Regions from separate parts of the Homo sapiens genome. Here region 2 is linked to region 1. Evidence: promoter capture Hi-C in 16 types of primary human blood cells and fetal thymus (Javierre and others, 2016). All regions are on one chromosome and are shown on one strand. The core of a region is centred on a gene start or on the middle of the fragment in contact, and the rest is flanking DNA. Distances in the headings are between cores, read along the strand shown.

Evidence for each region. The method cuts DNA at HindIII sites, captures the fragments that hold promoters and counts their contacts. A CHiCAGO score of 5 or more calls a contact.
Region 2: a contact is called between a fragment that was not itself captured here and the fragment with the promoter of KLHL11 in region 1, in 2 of 17 cell types (endothelial precursors and megakaryocytes). The highest score is 5.6, in endothelial precursors.

What each region holds. Positions count from the first base shown.
Region 1 is chr17:41,863,940-41,867,129 of GRCh38, reverse strand. KLHL11 (kelch like family member 11) reads left to right here and starts at 1,707. Exons shown (of 2, transcript NM_018143.3): 1 at 1,707-2,304. The coding sequence starts at 1,760. It overlaps ACLY (ATP citrate lyase), which reads left to right. Exons shown (of 29, transcript NM_001096.3): 29 at 1-212. RefSeq lists enhancers at 522-1,022, 1,023-1,523 and a silencer at 1,557-1,746. The HindIII fragment of the contact is 13,530 bases long and covers 1-3,190 here.
Region 2 is chr17:41,718,336-41,721,607 of GRCh38, reverse strand. It overlaps a transcript of HAP1 not described here. Among named protein-coding and RNA genes, the nearest start is that of GAST, 7.6 kb to the right of the region's middle. The HindIII fragment of the contact is 2,667 bases long and covers 89-2,755 here.

The sequences.
Region 1 (3,190 bases), core at 458-2,957:
ATGGAAATGCAGAAAGCTGTGAAATGTCTTGTGTCTTATGTTCTCTGTATTTATGCAGCTGATTTGTCTGTCTGTAACTGAAGTGTGGGTCCAAGGACTCCTAACTACTTTGCATCTGTAATCCACAAAGATTCTGGGCAGCTGCCACCTCAGTCTCTTCTCTGTATTATCATAGTCTGGTTTAAATAAACTATATAGTAACAATGAAGGCATACTGCTGGCTCCTGGCATCCATATCCTTTGATCTGTATTCCTTTGTAACTGTACTTTTTTCCAGACAGGGTATCACTCTGTCGCCCCAGGGCTGGAGTACAGTGGCACCATCACAGCTCACTGCAGCCTCCATCTCCTGGGCTCAAGCAGTCCTCCCACTCCAGCCTCCCAAGTAGCTGGGACTACAGGAGCATGCCACCACTCCAGGCTAACTTTTGTATTTTTTGTGGAGATAAGGTTCTGCTGTATTTCCCAGGCTCTTCTGGAACTCATGGACTCAAGCAATCCATCCTCCTTGGCCTCCCAAAGTGCTGTTACAGGCGTGAGCCACTGTGCCTGGCCTGGCCTGAACTGTACTAATAGTTTCAGTATATATGGTTTTAAAAATGCTCATCTACGGTCAGGCGTGGTGGCTCATGCCTGTAATCCCAGCACTTTGGGAGGCTGAGGCGGGTGGATCACGAGGTCAGCAGATCGAGACCATCCTGGCTAACACGGTGAAACCCCGTCTCTATTAAAAATACAAAAACTTAGCCAGGCATGGTGGCGGGCGCCTGTAGTCCCAGCTACTCCGGAGGCTGAGGCAGGAGAATGGCGTGAACCCGGGAGGCGGAGGTTGCAGTGAGCCGAGACCCGCGCCACTGCACTCCAGCCTGGGCGACAGAGCGAGACTCCGTCTCAAAAAAAAAAAAAAAAAAAAAATTAGCCTGGAGTGGTGGCGGGCGCCTGTAGTCCCAGCTACTCGGGAGGCTGAGGCACAAGAATCGCTTGAACCCGGGCGGCGGAGGTTGCAATAAGCGAAGAGCGCGCCACTGCACTCCAGCCTGGGCGACAGAGCGAGACTCCGTCTCAAAAAAAAAAAAAAAAAAAAAATTAGCCTGGAGTGGTGGCGGGCGCCTGTAGTCCCAGCTACTCGGGAGGCTGAGGCACAAGAATCGCTTGAACCCGGGCAGCGGAGGTTGCAATAAGCGAAGAGCGCGCCACTGCACTCCAGCCTGGGCGACAGAGCGAGACTCCGTCTCAAAAAAAAAAAAAACAAAAAACCCAAAACAAAACAAAAACAAAAAGAAACAAAAAAAAAAACGGATAACGAGTAACTCATTCATCCCTCATCCACTTAGCTGGGGCTAGATCTTATAAAAATCCTGTATTGCCACTCAAGGCTTTAACAACAGGTGATGGTCTAAGGTGGCTTTACTCGACAAAATGACTGCAGAGAGCATGCTACCCACTAAGGAAAGGAAGCGAGCCATACTCGCACCGACGCCCTGGGGGTAGGCCTGGGGCGAAGTCTTCTGGACTGGGCGACTGTTACTGACGGACCTCACCAAGGCAGGCAGAGCTGCTGGAGGCGAGGCGGCGCTGCTGGAGGCGAGGCGGCGCTGCTGGAGGCGAGGCGGCGCTGCTGGAGGCGAGGCGGCGCATGTGCGGCCGGCGGGCGACCTGGCCCCGCCCCGCGCGCACTATTTAATCCCAGAATCCCTCTGTGTCGTACCAACAGCCGCATCGTTCCGAGGCTGTGGAGGCCGGGCGCAGCGGCGTCAAGATGGCGGCTGCGGCAGTGGCGGCGGCGGCGGCGGCGGCCGCGGCTGCATCTCTTCAGGTACTGGAGATGGAGAGCATGGAGACGGCCGCCGCCGGCTCGGCAGGACTGGCCGCCGAGGTCCGAGGCAGCGGCACGGTGGACTTCGGGCCTGGGCCGGGGATCTCTGCAATGGAGGCGAGCGGGGGCGATCCGGGCCCAGAAGCCGAGGATTTCGAGTGCAGCTCTCACTGCTCAGAGCTGTCCTGGCGGCAGAACGAGCAGCGGCGCCAGGGCCTCTTCTGCGACATTACCCTGTGCTTCGGCGGGGCTGGAGGCCGCGAGTTCCGGGCCCACCGCTCGGTACTGGCTGCCGCCACCGAGTACTTCACGCCCCTGCTCTCGGGCCAGTTTTCCGAGTCCCGCTCGGGACGGGTGGAGATGCGCAAGTGGAGCTCCGAGCCGGGGCCCGAACCCGACACAGTGGAAGCCGTAATCGAGTACATGTACACCGGGCGCATCCGCGTCAGCACGGGCAGCGTGCACGAGGTGCTGGAGTTGGCCGACAGGTAGGCGAGGGAGGCGGGAGCGCGGAGGGCGGCGGGCGCGGAGAGGGGGAGATGCTCGCTGGCGGAGGGGAGGGCAGTGCCTGCCACGGCAGCTCGCGAGTCCTGAGTGAATGCATTGGTTTCACACTCGCTGAGCGCCTGCTTGGGGGCAGCCACCGCGGTGGGCGAGGAGGATGCACCATCAGGTCCGGCGAGGGCGCCCCGCGCCCAAGGAGCTCAGATACTAGGTGATGGGACAAAAGTGATGAAAAGGAAAGTCAGTATGTGGTAACTGTTGTGCTGACGTTCAAAAGGAATGAAAGGCTAGGGATTGAATAAAGATCTTTCTGAAGAGGTGAAGTTTAGATCGACCTCTGAATGTCAAAAAATAACTGACCGTGCAAAGATGGGGAATGAATATTCCAGACAGCGCAAACGCCCTCAGGCAGGATCCAGTTTGGCTTAGAGAAGAGAATTAAAATATAGTCCAGTGAGGCTGGATCTAGTGGATGAAGGGGAGAAGGATGCGTGAGATGCGTTGGAATAAGGAGTTTGGATTTCACTAAGTGTGATAGGAAGCTGGGTAAAGAAATAGCTCATTTAAATATTTTAATATTATTCTGCCACTGTGTTAAACGGATTGTAGGGAGCAGGAATGCTCCAGAGACTGGTTAGAAGGCAGGTAATACCGTTTATAGAGATGGAGAGGCGTTTGTTTTGGCAATTATCATCTTACAGATACATTAACAAAAATGCCTATTGAGCGCCTATTACGCATCAGCTCAGATGCGGGATTCTAAGGTGCTAGGGTTTCAGCAGTGATCAAAACAGACAAAAGTCCTTTTCCTTATCGCACTTAGGTTGGTAGATGGACGGTAAATAAGTAAAATGTATAGCCTGTTGGATG
Region 2 (3,272 bases), core at 173-2,672, 150 kb after region 1:
TGACAGAGTAAGACCCTGTCTCAAAAAAAGAGAAAAGAAAATGACAGACAAACCAGACATGGGGGAAATTGCCAGCTTTGATAAAGCTTTGAAGGAAACGGAGATGCAGGAGAACACCTTGTGGACCAGAGACCACTGAGCAGGAGAAGCAGTGAAATTTCCTAAAATCTGGAGGATTCCCTGCCCCTGTTATCTTCAAGTCCCCAGTGGTGATGTGGAAGAAAAGCAACCTGCAAGGTGGATGCAAGCCACAAGCTGCTCTGTGAACCTGGGCACCTCACACAGATGCCACTGGCCTGTGGGTCTCTGAGGGGACCCGCAAATGGGACTGCCAAATTCTCTGGTTTGCTCCAGGATATTATAGAAAATTATTTATATGAATAGTAAAAATAAAACACACTTTGTGGCCCCCCTGCCAAAAGAATATCATTGAGAAGATTATTGCTGTGGCTAACCGGGTCTCAGTCCTGCTGGGAACTCTGGGGGACAGTAGAATATATCTCAGAGTAGCCTGGGTGAGGTGGCTCACACCTGTAATCCCAGCACATTGGGAGGGCGAGGCAGGTGGATCACCTGAGGTCAGGAGTTCGAGACCAGCCTGACCAATGGAGAAACCCCGTCTCCACTAAAGATACAAAATTAACTGGGCATGGTGGCACACATGCCTGTAATCCCAGCTACTCGGGAGGCTGAGACAGGAGAATCGCTTGAATCCAGGAGGTGGAGGTTGCGGTGAGCTGAGATTGCACCATTACACCCCAGCCTGGGCAATAAGAGTGAAACTCCGTCTCAAGGAAAAAAAAAAAAAAGAATATATCTCAGAGTTATCCCACCCCTTGGGTGGGGGAGCTGGGGTATTTATCCTCTAACTGTCATCTGACACTGTCTGAGAGATGCTTCTGGAGGCATTTAACTGCCCTGCACTTGGCCCTGAAGGAAATTAGAATGTGTTACCTCCAAATATGCCACTTTGGCATAAGGACTATTTTGAGCTGAAGGCAATTGAGAAGAAGCAGATACAAGAAAAGCTCCCTACCCTCCTATTTGCATAAAAACAGGACATACATTTTCAACTGTGTCCATCTACCAGGAAGGATAAAAGTTAAATCTCTGGGCTGGGCACGGTGGCTCATGCCTGTAATCCTAACACTTTGGGAGGCCGAGGTGGGTGGATCACCTGAGGTCAGGAGTTCAAGACCAGCCTGAGCAACATGGAGAAACCCTGTCTCTACTGAAAATACAAAATTAGCCAGGTGTGGTGGCACATGCCTGTAATCCCAGCTACTTGGGAGGCTGAGGCAAAAGAATTGCTTGCACCTGGGAGGCGGAGGTTGCAGTGAGCCGAGATTGCCCCATTGCACTCCAGCCTGGGCAACAACAGCGAAACTCTGTGTCAAAAATAAATAAATAAATAAATAAAGCTGGGCGCGGTGGCTCATGCCTGTAATCCCAGCACTTTGGGAGGCCAAGGTGGGTGGATCATGAGGTCAGGAGATCGAGACCATCCTGGCTAACACGGTGAAACCCCGCCTCTACTAAAAATACAAAAAATTAGCCAGGCGTGGTGGTGGGCGCCTGTAATCCCAGCTACTTGGGACGCTGAGGCAGGAGAATGGCATGAACCCGGGAGGCAGAGCTTGTAGTGAGCCAAGATCGTGCCACTGCACTCCAGCCTGGGCAACAGAGTGAGACTCTGTCTCAAAAAAAAAAAAAAAAAGTTAAATATCTGGAGACAACTTTATTTTTTATTATTTTTTTGGTTTCCATAATTTGGACTTATTTTATTGATACTCATTAGTGAATAAAATGTTGATTTTTGATGCATTACAATACACTTTTTGGTAGTGGTTGCACAATGTTGATCATTTATTTGTTTACTAAATACTGCAATCTCCAAATTGCCTTTTTTTTTTTTGAGACAGAGTCTCGCCCTGTCTCCCAGGCTGGAGTGCAATGGCGTGATCTCAGCTCACTGCAACCTCTGCCTCCTGGGCTCAAGCAATTCTCCTGTCTCAGCCTCCTGAGTAGCTGGGATTACAGATGCATAACACCATGCCCAGCTAATTTTTGTATTTTTAGTAGAGACAGTGTTTCACCGTATTGGTCAGGCTGGTCTCGAACTCCTGACCTCAGGTGATCCGCCTGCCTTGGCTTCCCAAAGTGCTGGGATGACAGACGTGAGCCACTGCGGCTGGCCAAATTGCCAATTTTTACATGGTATTTCTGGCAATGATGGTGGCTCGTCTCTCTGAATACATAAAATGGTCCATTCAATCCATGGTTTTCATATTCCTTTGTTATTCTATCTACTGCTTTAAAATACATTCAGGCTGAGTGCAGCGGCTCACACCTAGAGAATCCCAGCACTTTGGGAGGCTGAGGCGGGTGGATCACGGGGTCAGGAGTTCAGGACCAGCCTAGACAACATGGTGAAACCCCACCTCTACTAAAAAGTACAAAAATTAGCCTGGCATGGTGGTGCCTGCCTATAATCCCAGCTACTTGAGAGGCTGAGGCAGGAGAATCGCTTGAACCTGGGAGGTGGAGGTTGCAGTGAGCTGAGATGGCACTACTGCAATCCAGCCTGGGTGACAGAGCAAGACTCTGTCTCAAAAAAATAAAATACATTCAAATAAAAAAATATAAGTTACTTGCAACAAGTGCACACTTAGAACAGCGAGGAGAGCTGAGAACATAATTAACCAGTACTCTTGTGTTCAGAGCATAAATAGTCTGAAACCGTGGGACTGAAGCTTGCTCCTCATAGACTTTCTCCAAGTATCCTTGGTGGACGTAAGGTTACCCTCACTCAACGGAAGGACACATCTGCTGCTGTGGTGGGAGGACACAGAATGACAATTTCATTTACGTAGGACGTTTTCCTTCCATAATGTCTGGAACAAGTCGGAGACAACTTTAGACCCCTTTCAGCCTGGAGTGGCACCAGTGCAATCTAATAACAAACTTGACTCACTAGCCTTTATCTACCATTCGTTTTCCATATAGCTGCTTTCCCATGCACAGTTAGCCACCCTTGGAAGTCTAACCTAGGCTGGAGCTTGGGGGCCTGGACCTCAGCCCTCTTCTGGGACAGGCGGTAGGAACCCCAGCCCTTGTTCTGCAGCTGGCACAAGAGCTGTGACTGCCGGATGTGGGTCACATGGCAGCCCAGGGGGGCAGGAGAAGCCGGGGGAGGCCCACTGGCTACCAGACCCAGCCCTGAGAGGGGACAGGGCTCAGCTCCCACGGGCAGAAAGCTGTTTCCCACACAC